2 separate regions of the Homo sapiens genome follow, and region 2 is linked to region 1. Evidence: promoter capture Hi-C in 16 types of primary human blood cells and fetal thymus (Javierre and others, 2016). All regions are on one chromosome and are shown on one strand. Each heading gives the region's core, a stretch centred on a gene start or on the middle of the fragment in contact. The rest is flanking DNA. Distances are from core to core; before and after follow the strand shown. Region 1 holds the start of OR2T4 (olfactory receptor family 2 subfamily T member 4). Region 2 has its middle 14 kb from the start of OR2T10.

What was found. Contacts are between HindIII fragments. The CHiCAGO score rates a contact against its expected background, and 5 or more counts as called.
Region 2: a fragment that was not itself captured here is called in contact with the fragment with the promoter of OR2T4 in region 1 in 4 of 17 cell types (naive B cells, naive CD4 T cells, non-activated CD4 T cells and 1 more); the score reaches 5.8 in naive B cells.

The regions. Positions count from the first base shown.
Region 1 is chr1:248,359,042-248,366,555 of GRCh38, reverse strand. OR2T4 (olfactory receptor family 2 subfamily T member 4) reads right to left here and starts at 4,891. Exons shown (of 1, transcript NM_001004696.2): 1 at 3,929-4,891. The coding sequence starts at 4,891. The coding sequence ends at 3,929. The HindIII fragment of the contact is 1,770 bases long and covers 3,236-5,005 here.
Region 2 is chr1:248,607,969-248,615,653 of GRCh38, reverse strand. No RefSeq gene overlaps it. Among named protein-coding and RNA genes, the nearest start is that of OR2T10, 14 kb to the right of the region's middle. The HindIII fragment of the contact is 6,444 bases long and covers 2,100-7,685 here.

The DNA of each region.
Region 1 (7,514 bases), core at 3,642-6,141:
TCATGCAATGTAATTAACCATTTTAAAGTGAACAATTCAGTGGTATCTTATACATTCACAATATTGGGCAACAACAACCTCTAGTTCCAAAACATTTCCACGATCCCAAGCTGTAAAACCCCTTACTCATTAAGCAGTAATAAGTGTTGGTGAGAATATGGAGAAATTAAGACTCATGCATTGCTGGTGGAAATGCAAAATGTTTCAGCCATAGTTGAAAACAGTTTGACAGCTTTTCAAAACACAAAGTATAGAATTATTATATTACCCTGCTATTCCACTCCTAGTTATATATGTAAAAAGTACCACTTTTAAATTAATACTCTGATATTCAACGCAATAGATATACATTTATAGAAATTATACATTAACAACAGTTAGCAATTGTAACAGTAAGTTAAAATATGTACATGAATTATTTTCAGAGTAAATGCAAGTTAACATTTTGCAGTCACCAGATAGAAAGAACTACTTATATAAAATTGATTTTTAAAAAATCTGAGCAGCAACTGACTCGTCAGCAAATTTGTTGGAAGCTGAAAGACAGAAACTTTTCAACTATTGACAAGGAGTGTAACTCAAGAAGTTGATATACAGCAAGGTGTCAAGAGAAATATAATTACAGGTGTGCAAGAAAGAATAAATCCATCAAATAAAGAAGAAAAGAAACTATGGAGAGCACAAACCTTTGTCATCTGTGTATACCATATAGATGGTCTGTATATGTGTATGCTATTTCCAAAGAGCAAATGTCTTCAAGTTACAAGCACAAAAGAACTTTGAGGTTTCATTCAAATGCCTGTTCAAGCTATGAGGTTTTTTCAACCTTCCTAGACTTTCAAATGACCTCCCAGCACATTCAGTCCAGAATCAGTCGTTACTAACATGCCTAGATCCTACTCACAGCTAGAGCTCTCAGTCAAGGTAAAGCCTCGGGGCCTCACCTGTTCTGCCTGTATCAGGTCAAGGAGTCGGCCCCGAGAGTGGGGAGACAGGACCCAGCATCCTCTGCCTCCCCCAGCTCATGCATTCTTCAGTTTAGCCCACTGTACCCTCAAAGTTGGAGGTGGGAGGGAGGGAAGTTGTCTCCATGTCCTCACCAACACTTGTTATCTTTTGTCTTTTTGATAATAGCCATTCTAACAAGAGTGAAGTGATATCTCATTGTGGTTTTGTTTTGTGTTTCCCTGATGACTAGTGATAATAAGCATTATTTTTCATATACCTGTTGGCCATCTGTCTGTCTTCTTTCCAGAAATGTCTATTCAGGTCTTATGCCCATTTTTAAATTGTGTTATTTATTTTCTTACTATTGAGGTTTCTGAGTTCCTGATATATTTTTTCTATTAATCCCTTATCAGATAATATAGTTTACAAATACTTTATCTAATTCTGTGGGTTGTCCCTTCACTCTATTGATTGTTTCCTTTACTGTGCAGAACCTTTTTAGTTTTGCATAATCTGATTTGTTTATTTGTGCTTTTGTTCCATGGGAGTTTGAGTTTATATCCAGAAAAACATTGCCCAAACCAATGTCACAGAGCTTTTCCCTATATTTTCTTCTAGTAGCTTTACAGTTTCGGGTCTTATATCCAAGTTTAATTCATTTTGAATTGATTTTTGTATATGGTGTGAGAAAAGGGTTCAATTTTGTTCTTTTGCATGTGGATATCTAATTTTTCCAGTATCATTTGTTGAAGGAACAGTCCTTTCCTCAGGTGTGTTTTTGGCACATTTGTCAAAAATCAATTGACTATAAATGTGTGGGTTTATTTCTCGGCTCTAAATCCTGTTCCACTGGTCAATGTGCCTTTTGTAATGCGTGTACCATGCTGTTTTGAGTGTCATAGCTTTGTAATATATTTAGAAAAAAAGTAGTGTGATGCTCCCCTTTTGTTCTTACTGTTCATATAAATCATTTTTTTCTCCAGTTCTGTGAAAAATGACATTGAAATGTGACAAGAATGTCATTAAATGTATAGACCCCTTTGGGTAATATGAAAAATTTAACATATTAATTCTTCCAATCCATGAATATGGGATAGTTCTCATTTATTGGTGTCTTCTTTAATTTCCTACATCAATGTTTTATGTTTTTCAGTGTAGATATTTAACCCTTTTGGTTAAATTTATCCCAAAGTTTTTGTTTGTTTGATTTGACACTATTATAAATAAAATTGTTTTTAAATTTCTTTTTCAGGTAGTTTGATGTTAGTGCATAGAAAAATTATTGATGTATGTTGATTTTGATTTCTGCAACTTTATGTGAAGGCTTTCAATTGTTCTAACAGAGCTTTTGTGGAGATTTTAAGTTTTACATGTTTAGGATCATATTGTCAAGAGGAAAGCAGAATCTGTAAATCTGAAGCCACTTGATTTTTCACAAGTTGGACACAGGCAATTGGAAAATGATACACCTGCAACTAGGTCTGTAATTATAATCCAATTGGTTTGACAAAGTCTCACATCCCTGCATACCCCAAACATTTCCTCTCCCTAAGTCCCTCCTGGTGGTAAGGTACACATCGTTCCACTGAGTTCGTGCATTTCACCATCCTCACTCACCTGGTCTGCCTGCCACCAGGTTTGCACTTCTCCAATCTATTGTCACCAAAGTAATATTTCTGAAATGCAAGACTGATCATTTTCTACTGTTTGTAAACATCTGGGTCACAGAAAGCAAGGAATTATTCCACAAAATAAAACAGGAAAGAAGGCACGATTAGAATATTTGCCACTCCTGCTTGGTCAATTGTCTGACCTTTGCTCTTGCTGTGCCTTTTCCCAGGCATAATCACATCCCTGACAAAGTCCCTCCCCCTTCCCCAGCCATGTGTAGTTATCTGAGGGGAACAGCTAGGCACCTTTAACACTGAGCTCCTGGGGCTGCACTCAGCATCTTCTGCTTGATTGAATGTGCACAGCACAGGAAGAAGCGAGGTGCCAGAATGAGCTATACCCTTTCCACATGTGCATCAAAGCATTTCATACACTTTATAGCACCTATTTGCACACAGAATTACTAGTTCAAATTTCTTGGGGAAAGCAGTATGTAGTATTCACCTTTGAATTTTCTTTAGTGAATATTTTAGATTTAATATAGCATAACAAATATTTACTGGATAAATGAACAATTGGATATTTGATACTCTACCTCTTCTTATTTGTCTAATAAATTACATACTTCAAAACTCAGCTCAGATGTCACTTTGTGCTGGAAATCTTCTCTAAAGCTTCTTTTCACCCCAGGCTAATATGTTTTCCACAGTCTCTTAACGGAATTCGGGATTCAAAACCCAGCACTTGATGAAGACTGTTAACCTCAATAACAGACCTTAATCTTTCAGGAACCAACCATGTGGGCCAAGACAGCCTCCAATAAGGGTGGACAAATGGCTGGATTGTCTCAGCAGTGAATAACTACATTGCAATCAGCAAGTTTTCTAAGATATTATATCATGTGTACTGCTCAAAAAAGGTGGGAGGGAGGGGACATATTTTAATTATTTATTTAAAATTAATTTCAATTTTACAGAAAATTAGCATAAATAAAAGTAGTACAAAGAACATCTATATGAACCCTTTTTCTTCCTCATTTCTCCCTCTCTCTCAATTTTATGCCTTATAACCTTTATCCTCTAAGTAGTATCATTATGTATTCCCAGAATATGAAAATATCCTATAGAATTAGAAAGTAGTTATGAACTTCAGTAACTGTAACATCAATATAATATGACTGAATAATGCATTTTGAAGTGAGACGGAGTGTAAATTGAAAAGTTTCTAGTACAGGAAAGCGATTTCTAAAAGAGGTGTGAAAATGAGATCAAACACCATGGCAGTCTTGGAGTCTGGGAAATAACACTGGTATAACATTCTCATATGTGAAGTGCAGAGAGAAGGAAAAGTAAATTACTCTCAAAATGGTCTACTCCATAGCTTTTTGAAAGGCAGGTTCCACTGTTAACATTTTCTTCAGAGCCCCCATGACATCCTTATTCCTAAGACTATAGATTAAAGGGTTCACCACTGGAGTGAGGATGGTATAGAAGACAGATACCATCATGTCCTTCTCAGGGGTGTGGTAGGAGCTGGGGAGCATGTAGGTGTAGATGGCAGCCCCATAGAAGAGGATGACCACAGTCAGGTGGGAGGAGCAGGTGGCAAAGGCCTTTTTCCGGCCCTCTGCTGAGTTCATCCCGTGGATGGTGAGGAGGATGAGTAAATAGGAGCTTGAAATGATCACCACAGGGATGAGGAGCATGAGGACACAGCACAAGTACATGAAAATCTCATAGAGTGAGGTGTCTGAGCAGGAGAGATTCAATACAGCAGGAACTTCACAGAAGAAATGATGAATCTCCCGGGATCCACGGAAGGGGAAGGTCATGGTGATGGGAGTGAATGTGAAGCCATCCACTGAGCCCAGGAACCAGCAGCCTGATGACAGGAAGAGACACACCCTATGGTTCATGAGGACAGGGTAACGGAGAGGATGGCAGATGGCCACGTAGCGGTCATAGGCCATGGTGGCTAGAAGGAAAAATTCTGAACCTGCTAGTGTCACGTAGAAGAACATCTGCATCCCACACTCAGGGGCTGAGATCTTATTCACACCCATGACCTGGTCCAGGAGCATCTTGGGCACAGTGACAGAAATGTACGCCATGTCCATGAGAGACAATTGACTGATGAAAAAGTACATGGGGGTGTGGAGGTGGGCGTCACAGTGTATCAGAAGGATCAGGACAGCATTTCCAGACAACGCCATCAGGAAAACCACAAAAATGACCACACAAAGTAGTGCTGGATGTTTGGATTGTCTGAAGAGTCCCAACAGGATGAAATCCGACCATCCAGTGTGGTTGGCCATCCAGGTGATATTGGCCATTGGATGTTTGGATTGTCTGAAGAGTCCCATCAGGATGAAATCCGACCATCCAGTGTGGCTGGCCATCCAGGTGATGTTGTCCATGAGGTTTCACCTAGGCCACAAAGGAAAGCTTGGGGTTAAAGTAATTTGAGCCTCTGAAACAAATTGTGTGTGTGTGTGTGTGTTCTAACCAAAGAAAGGCCCATGGGCCTGTAGATTTGGGTGTTATAAATTATCTGCAATTCAAAAAATTTACCAGGAACTAAGAATTCACAACTGTGGATCAAAAGGGTGATTTGTAGTGAAGTTGCCACAGTTCTGAGTCATGAGATTTCCCGATGAGAGTGTCTGTTATAAACAAGTCCTGGAAACTGGCAGTGTCACTGCCTTATGCAGACATGAATAGTGAATTATTGAAAACAAAGGAGAATTTTGTCCCCCTGTTTTTAGAGTTGTTTAGAGAAGTCTAAAGTGAATTACATTCTCTGGTTTAAGGATCCATCTGGAATCTTAAAAACTCCCAAAAGTGTATTCCATATAGGAATGATTTAGAACATGACTAAAATATCACTTGTGGAAAATCCATACCAAACATTTGCACCCTTCTACCCACAGTATTGGACAATGCTGTGAGGCTCTGTGGTTTCGTGGAGCAAAACCCCACACATCCCCATGAGCAAGCCAGGGTCCTCCTACACACCAGACTCCTCAGAAACCAGAGTCGCATGGGGTGAGGAGCCCAGGGACCGTGGCTGGACTGCAGGGTGGACCCAGCTTCCCCTCTACCTGCTATTCCTCTGTTTACTGCACATAAAAATAGATGGTAAGAAAAGGTTTGACCTCAGGGTTGATGAAGATTAAATGCAGAAAAGTAATGAAAGTGCTTAGAATATTACCAGTTACAAATGAACAAATACATACACTGTCAAAGAGTTAATATCTACACAAATTATTCTGCAGACTGTATTACTATAATCATCTTATGATATGAGCTTCATTACTTCAGTTTGCTGATTTTATCATTTAGTCAGACTTGTAAGAATTTGGATTTGATAATTTCTCTAGTCCCAGACAACTTGTATGTATACAGTTTACATTTATTTTATATAAATTTATAGATATGCATTTTTATATATGTGCAGATTTACAAATATAAGAATACATTGTATATGCATATTTACAAATAGAAATGCATATATTAATGTAAGGTATGTCTCTTATTTTCATGTTGAGCAGAGATTTATGCAGAATCCACCTTCTTTGTGACTAGTGCATGCTTCTCCAAGCTTAACTCCTTAAAGCTCCTGTCATTCGCATTAAATCTCAGGGGGGCATAACTGGGATTTAGAAACTCCCTGCTATTTACCAGGTAAGGCTTTTGGTGTTTTTGCAAATATCTGCTTTATTGCCTGCTACAGTGAATTTTTTCACGGAAACTGTGAGGCAGAAAAGAAAATAAAACACTAAGATGTCTCTCACTTCAATTAAATTCCTTCCTCTATCTTGCTACTCACAGCCTGACTCTGTGTTAGCTAGTGCAGGAATCAAAGACAAATTATATTTGATTAAGCTTGAGGAGGTCACAGTCAGTCTATTCAGGAAAAAACATATAAACATGATTTAAAGTACAACTTCAGATTAGAATAGCTATGAGCTACATTAACAAGGCTAATAGAAGCAAAATACATTTAACCTTTCTGAAGAGAATCACTGATAACTCCTACATTTTCTCTTAAGAAGATTAAAACTTTGCAACTTTTCGATTTCTGACATGTTGTTAAATTTTAGTATTTATCAATAGGAAGAAAATATAGGGTCCTTTTTCAGGGAAGACTTTAGCAGTGGTTATCATACAGTCATATTTCAGGAAGAATTTCCAAGTTTCAAATACATTTTGAATTCTTTTAATAATTCTAATTAGACTTATTAATATTTTCAAGTTTTGGAGAATAATAATTAGATGCGGAGACTGGGCAGCTGTTTGCTAAGTGAATGGAGGGAGACCAAGAGGGCAGTGCGGGATGGGAGGTGGATGCTGGGCAAATCTCTGCTGCACTTTTGTAAATGGAAGTCCCTGTCATTAAGCCACGCTGAACAGCTGACCTGGGACACCAGATCAGTGAGGGAAAACTGTGACTGCAGCATGCAGCACAACTGGACTTTTTCTTTCTTTTATTTTTCTTGATCACATTGCTTGAGTTTCCAAACAGCACAATGCATGTTTAACCCAGGGAATAATTAATAGTGGTGGTAGGGCAATATTGAGCATTTATGTGAAGCTTACAGTATCCTAGGAATTGTTCTTAATGCCAGTTTACCACATTTAATTTTCCTCAAGAACCTATGAGGTATATAATCTAATTTCACCATTTACAGATTTAAAAGTTCAAGTTCTGGGGTATCTATCTAACATCACACAGCTAACCCCATGGAGTAAGTACATCGGTGCAGGTGCGGGACCCAGAGCATGTCACTTACCTCAGTTCTCTTGGGGACACAGTCCTGCTTCCGTAGACTAAAATTTGGGTTTTAGATAACTCACTATTGGTTTCACCAGGGAAACATAAATATGATTGAAACATTTGTTGCTAGTGTTTTCTAACTCTAAGACCTAATTTCCATTCAAAGAAAAATTAGTTGT
Region 2 (7,685 bases), core at 4,072-6,571, 250 kb before region 1:
AGAGGGCATCCTTTTCTTGTGCTGGTTTTTAAGGGAAATGCTTCCAGCTTTTGCACATTCAGTATGATCACTGTGGAGTTTTCATAGAAGGCATTTGTTATTTTGAGGTATATTTCTTCAATGACTAGTTTAATTGAGAGTTTTTAACATGGGAGTTAAAATTTATCAAAAGCCTTTTCTGAATCATTGAGATAATCATTTGGTTTTTGTTTTTAATTCTATGTGATGTGATGTTGAACCAACCTTGCATCCCAGGGATGAATCCTACTTTGGTCACGGTGGATAAACTTTTTGATGTGCTGTTAGATTCTATTTGTATTTTGTTGAAGATTTTTGCATCTGTTAATCAAAGATACTGGCCTGAAGTTTTTCTTTTTGTGTGTGTGTCTCTGCCAGGTTTTGAGATCAGGATGATGCTGGCCTTATAGAATAAGTTAGGGAGGGGTCTCTCCTCAATTATTTGGAATACTTTCTGTAGGAATGATATGAGCTCTTCTTTGTACCTCTTGCAGAATTTAGTTATGAATCTGTCTGGTCCTGGACTTTTTGTAGTTGGCAGGCTTTCTATTGTGAATTTAATTTCAGAACTTTTTAATGGTCTGTTCAGGGATTCTGTTTCATCCTGATTCAATGTTGAGAGGTTGTATGTGTCCAGGAATTCATTGATTTCTTCTAGATTCTCTAGCATAAAGCTGTTCATAGTAGTCTGAGGGTTTTCTTTGGTTGGTGTTTCTGTCAGGTTGCTGGTAATGAACTCTTTGACAATCCTGATTGTACTTATTTGTAGCTTCTCTTTTTTCTTAGTCTATCTAGTGGTCTATTTGTCTCTTTATGTTTTTCAAATACCAACTCCTGGATTCGTTGATCTTTCGTATGGTTTTTCACATCTCAATTTCCTCCCATTAAGCTCTGATTTTGATTAGTTCTTTGCTAGTTTTGGAGTTGGTTTGCTTTTGTTTCTCTAGTTCTAAGTGTGTGATGTTAGGTTGTTAATTTTAGGTCTTTCTGACTTTTTCATGTGGATATTTAGTGTTGCAGACTCCTCAACACTTCTTTAGCTACATCCTAGAGATTCTGGTATATTTTACCTTTGTTCTCATTAGTTTCAAATAATTTCTTGATTTCTGCCTTAATTTTGTTGTCTACAAAAAGGTCACCATTAGCATATTTAATTTTCATATAACTTTGTTTTGAGTGATTTTCTTAGTATTGATCTCTATTTATTGCACTGTGGTCCAAGAATATGGTTGGTATAATTAAGTTGCTGAGGATTGTTTTGTGTCCGATTGGTCAATTTTGGAGTATATGCTGTGTACACGTGAGAAGAATGTATATTCTGTTTTGGGGTTCAGAGTTCTGAAGATGTCTATTAGGTCCATTTGGCCAAGTGTTGAGTTTAGGTCTCAAGTCTCTTTGTTAGCTTTTTGCCTCAATACTGTCAGTGGGATGCTGAAATCTCCCATTATTATTGTATGGGAGTCTGAGTATCTTTGTAGGTCTTTAAGAACTTGCTTCATGAACCTGGGTGCTTCTGTGTTGTATGCATAGATAGCTAGGATAGTTAGATCTTGTTGAATGGAAACCTGTAGCATTATATTATGGCCATCTTTGTCTTTTGTGACCTTTGCTGGTTTGAAGTCTGTTTTGCCTGAAACTAGAATCGAAACCCTTGCTTCTTTGTTTCCATTTGCTTGGTAGATTTTTTTCCATCCCTTTACTTTGAGCCTATTGGTGTCATTGCATGTTAAATGGGTCTTTTGATGACAGCATACCTTTGAATCTTCTTTATCCAGCTTCCCACTCTGTGCCCTTTGAGGCAGTTAGCTTGTTTACATTCAAGATTAACATTGATATGTGTAGATTTGATCCTGTCATCCTATTCCTAGGTGTTTTTTTGTTTGTTTGCAGGCTTGTTTGTGTGGTTGCTTTATAGTGTCAATGGTCTATGTATTTAAGTGTGTTTTGGTAGTGACTGGTAATGGTCTTTTCTTTCCACATTTAACACTCCTTTCAGGACCTCTTGTAAGGCAGGTCTGGTTGTAAGGAACTCCCTTAGCATTGTCTGAAAAGAATCTTATTTTTCCTTTGCTTATGAAGCTTCCTTTGGCTGGATATGAAATACGTGGTTGAAAATTCTTTTCTTTAGGAATGCTGAACATAGGCCCCCAACCTCTTCTGGTTTGTAGAGTTTCTGCTAAAGGATCTGCTGTTAGCTTATGGGGTTTCCTTTGTAGGTGACCTGCCCCATTTCTCTAGCTGCCTTTAACATTTTTCTTGTTTTCCATCTTCGAGAATCTGATGACTATGTATCTTAGTGATGGACTTCTTGTGTTGTGTCTTGCAGAAAAAAGTTAATTGTACTCAAATTACACCACAGTTAAAGGGATATGAGCCCACACAGATGAGAACAAACCAGTGCAAGAACTCTGGCTTTTTGAGTTGCCAGAGTGTCTACCTTCCTCCGACCAACCACACTTTACCCCACATGAATATGGAGAAATGCAGAGCTGCTACCAATAGGTGTGATTGATCCAGAGTGTTACAGCTGTGTCATGGGCCTAAACCAGGGGGGCCCTTCCTGGTGATGAGCAAGAGGACAAAGGGCTCACAGGGGAGACCAAATGTGTTCTCTCTCAGTGCTCTCAATTTGAATATTGGCCTCTCTAACAACATCGGGGAAATTTTCATGGACAATTTCCTGAAATGTGTCTCCTAAATTGCTTGTCTTCTCCCGCTCTGTTTCAGAGATACCATATAAATCATAGATTTGGTCTCTTTACATAATTCCATATTTCTCAGATGTTTTCTTCACTCTTTTTAATTTTTAATTTTTTCTGAGTTTAGAGTACATCTTCAAGCTCTGAGATTTTCTTCAGCTTAGTCCTATCTGCTATTAATATTTGTAACTGTATTAAGAAATTCTTGTAGTGTGTTTTCCAGCTCTCACAGATCAGTTTGGTTCTTATAATGGCCATTTCATCGATCACTCCTGTATTATTTTATTGTAATCCTTAGATTCTTTGGATTGGGTTTCAACTCTCTCCCGAATCTTGATGGTCTTCATTCCTATCTATATTCTGAATCCTATTTCTGTCATTTCAACCATTTTAGACTACTTAAGAACCCTAGTTGGGGGAGCTAGTGCATTTGTTTGGAGAAAAGATGCTCTGGCTTTTTGAGTTGCCAGAGTTCTTGCACTGGTTCCTTCTCATCTGTGTGGGCTCATGTCCCCTTCACTGTGGTGTAACTTGAGTACAGTCAGTTGACTTCTGGATGTTTTCAGAGGGCCCAAGGCTTTGTGCAGGGTCTTTACTCATAGCTGAGTTCTTGGCCTTGGTTTCATGGGGAGGTATATTAGAGTATTTTTGGTGTCGAAGTTTGGGCTGTGATCCAGTAGATGGTGCTTAAGCATAATGGCCGGTAGATAGAGGAGCCGTGGGGCTGAACAAGGGCCTATTTTCTCACAATTGCAGGCTTGCTCCCTCTCAGTGCTCTGAAAGTGTGGGCTCCTCTTCCTCCTTTAGTGCTGGCTGTAGATCTCAGCTTGGTACTCCTGGGCTACAGGCCACACCTCTGGGGTGACTCAGGCTTTATGTTCCCCTCAGCCTGGAGGCAGTGTGAGCAGGGTCCTGGCAGTGTTGTGGAAGAGGGCCTTTCACATGTTTCTTGGGCCCCATCCCAGAGAAATGCAGAGCTGCTACCAATAGGTGTGGTCAGCCCAGAGTGGGGCAGCTGTGTTTGGGCCCAAACCAGGGGGCCCTGCGTGGTGACAAAAAAAATTCATGTCAATAATTTCTTATGATTAAAACTATATTATCTTTTTAAAACATCTTTTTCACTCTATAAATACATCTGTGAGTGCTATACATAATTTAAGACATAGATGGAACTAAAAGGAGAAATAAAGGTATAAAATAAATCCTACCACATTTACTATAAAATTTTTTCTTTGTAAAAATTTTAGTTTATTTTGTTTTTAATCGACTCATAACAATTGTATATTTTTATGGGGTATGGGGTGATGTTTTGACACATATATACATTGTATAATGATCAAGTCAGAATAAAAATTTTCAAAATAGGATTTTGAAAATTGTTTTTAATTGACAATTGTATATATATTTGGGTACAGTGAGATATTTCAATACATGTACACATTGTGGAATGACCATGTCATGATAATTAACATATCCATCTCACATACTTATTTTTTGTGGGAGAAAATGATATTTTTAATATATAGATACATAGATATATTAAAATACTATAGATTAGAATCATGCTGTATATAGCTCTACATCTGCATAAATATTCTTGTGTACATATTTTCAGTGTTTACTTTTTAAAAATATTGTTTTGAATATAACTTCACAATTTACCTTAATAACAGAATCTGAGTTTTCTTATTTCCAATGTAGATTTCTTCCAATTTTTTACTAATCTAAAACAATACTATAATGAATATCTGTGTAAGGAATTCCTTTATTGTATCGGTTATTACATTTTTATTAAACAGTGTCCCTTTCATGTTCATATACTCGGGTTGTACCCGTCAGTGATCTACCCCGGCATACCACAAAAGGCCGCACTGGTGTTTTCACTGACTCACAGCAACACTGATAATCACACATTTTTTTGCCTCTCTGTTATTCAACAAATTAATGGACATTTTTGTGCTTTTTGTCATTGTCTTATTTTGTATGTACAAGTCTTCCACAAATTGTTTACTAACATGTTTGTGTCATTTTAAAAATTGCCATGTCTGTCTTATGAATATGCAAGAGAATCTTACACATTACCGATCCTCAGCCTTTGATTCGTCATGTGAACCATAAATTTCCTAATTAGAAAAAATTTGTTTTATTCAGAGATTGTTTTCAGTTTTCAAATACTAATTTTACTTTCCATGTTTTCTTCATTGCCTTTGCTCACCGTTTAGCTAAATCTTTACCCATTCATGTGTCTTGTTTTATATTTTTATTTTCCACATGTAAACCTTTAATCGATTTGATATTTTAAATTAATGTGATAACAGGACCTAGTTTCACCTAACTTTTTACTAAATTTTCATAATAATTTACTGAGTAATGCTTCCTTAGTTCAGTGAATCACAATGGAAAGTTTGAGACTTGTAGTATTTTCCCAGAATTGTGTTGCAGTCGTGCCAAGGAACCACACATTTCACTGGTTAATTTTTTACCATAACCATTGACAATCTATTGAGGAGAAATAACTTTTCTGTTTTCATCAGATTATGGCACTAGAAATTTTCAGTGACTTTGTTGAGTAACATTTAATAGCTTAATATGCAGGTTTCGATTCTAAGTAGACCATAGCTTCATTAAGGCTGACCCTGATTAGTATACATGAAATGTTTAAACTTGTAAAACAAACTTTTGAATTTCTTTTAAAATGACACTTTAGTAAACAATTCACTACCTAACTCTTCATGCCTTTGAATGTGATTTTAAAAATTCACAGCTGAAATATGAAAAATAAATGTATAGTAATATTTCTGCAACAAAAGTCACAAATAGAGTAATGTGGTGGCTTCTTTAGTGTGGGTGTGTTTTAACAGCAAATTCTACGATAAATTTATAGCACAAGATCCTTGTGGCTGAATAGAGCACAATGATAATTTAAGCATCTTCAAATACTCAAGTTCTGTAGAACTTAGTATAGTTCCCTTCAACTCCAGGGAAATGTTGTGCCTCCTAAATTTACACACGTCTAATTTTTTTTTCTTAATTTTCTAATAGTTTCACCTCGGAAGTGTAAGCAGCTTACCTGGGTGGGAAAGCAGGTCATGGCAGGGCTGGCCAGGTCATGGGCCGGCCTGCCCTGGAATCCCCTGCAGACCTTGCTTGTCTCCAGCTCTTCTCTCAGGCTCTCCCACTCTGAGTGAGTCTCCAGCTAAATACAAGGCATGATGTAGAATTAGGAAATGGAAAGAAAGGTGCAATCACTTTTTTCCACGAAGGGAAAAAGCATAAGGAACACGGAGGAAACTGGGCTTCTCAGGAGGTCCCTGGGCTCTTCTATTCTTGCAGGTAATTAGGGGGCTAGTCCCGAAAGGTTACGAAGACCAAGAGAATTGTTTAAAATGCTTCCTTTGTTTTCAGTAAATGAACTGAGCTACCATTTTAACTGTTTTCAAGTTGATTGTTTTAAATTAATCCTCTCAATATAATTAAGTAGTGGATTTGCCGATTATAAATTCTAAATGTTGCCAGGCATTGGTTTATTCACTCCACAGTCAGGTGCCTGCTTTGTGCCCATTCCTATGCTGGTCACTGGGGGCACAGTAAGGACAAAAGAGAGGCAGAAAGATTTAAGACAATATCCTTTATCAGTCTGAATTAAATTGCATGTGTTATTAGATAACTAAAGATAGGAGAGACTGAAGAATTCAAAGCAAGGTTTACAGAAAAATGATGGAGATGAGGTTCTGATGTTTAAGAGAAATGATAAAAACAGCCAAATTTGGTCTCAGACATGTAACAATGGATAGGACAGAATATACAAGACAAGGCTGTAAAACATTGCGTCGCTTGGTGTCCTATGAAAGCTATGTAGCATATATAAAGGATCCAAAAGGTTTCAAATACATTTCAAAACTCATATCTGCCTAAAACACATAGGTAGCTAGGAATGGAAATACATTTACTTAAATATTTCGTTTTAGGCAACATCATATATCAAAAGTAAAAAGAAAGCTAAAGCAAAATAGAAAACATACAACATAATATCTACCAAAATTATGAAAAGTTGGTTCCCTTGAAATAAAGTTGAAATGAAATCTGATATTTCTTTGTAATAGAATTCAAATGCTACATGAGGGTCAAAGGAATCGGTATAAAGCAAAAACAGAAATCAATACTGAGGTGACAGATGTTAGAGAATAAATAGAAGATAAAAGTAAAATAAAAATATGTTAACAAATGAAGAGAAACAGCTTAAAAATAATGAAGGACCAGAAAAAGAGGCTTAAAAATCCTGAGGAAAATAAAGAGAGAGGTTAAAAAGTGTCAGTGGATTTGGAAACCAACAAAAAGGGTCAAACATAAATATTGTGGTTGAAAAATACATGTAAATGATTAGAATGAAAATGTACATGCAGATACTTTTTCAAAATGTGATATAGTATTTTCTATATCCAGATATGTCCCACAAAAATATGGTACTGTGTGTGTCTAAGTTAGAATTACTAGGAAATCTAGGCAAAATATCACAATATAGTGGTATTAGGCCGGTCTTTGAATTTTATTTATATTAAATGATAAAAAATAGAGCAATACTTAACAATATTTTAGTGGAATATCTTTTAAAAAACAAAGCCATTCTTTAAGATTTAAGAGAAAGGAAAAGTAGAATAGCCACATATATACATCACAATAAAACAGGTTGAGGACAAACCTTAACCCACCAAAGGATGCCTGGAGAAACTATAATGGAAAGGTTCCTGATAATATGTAAAAGCATTTAATAAAAACACATGAGAAAATGACTCTATATGAATAAGTAAATGAAGGTATGACTAAAATAGAAATGTAACAAACTGAGACAATATAGACTGTGATAACAATATAAAAAAATCTAGAAACTGGGGAGATGGATGTGGAAATGACTAATAAAGATGTCTCCTTCTACCAGTATTTACATGTCTTTTATTTTCTTTTATATCT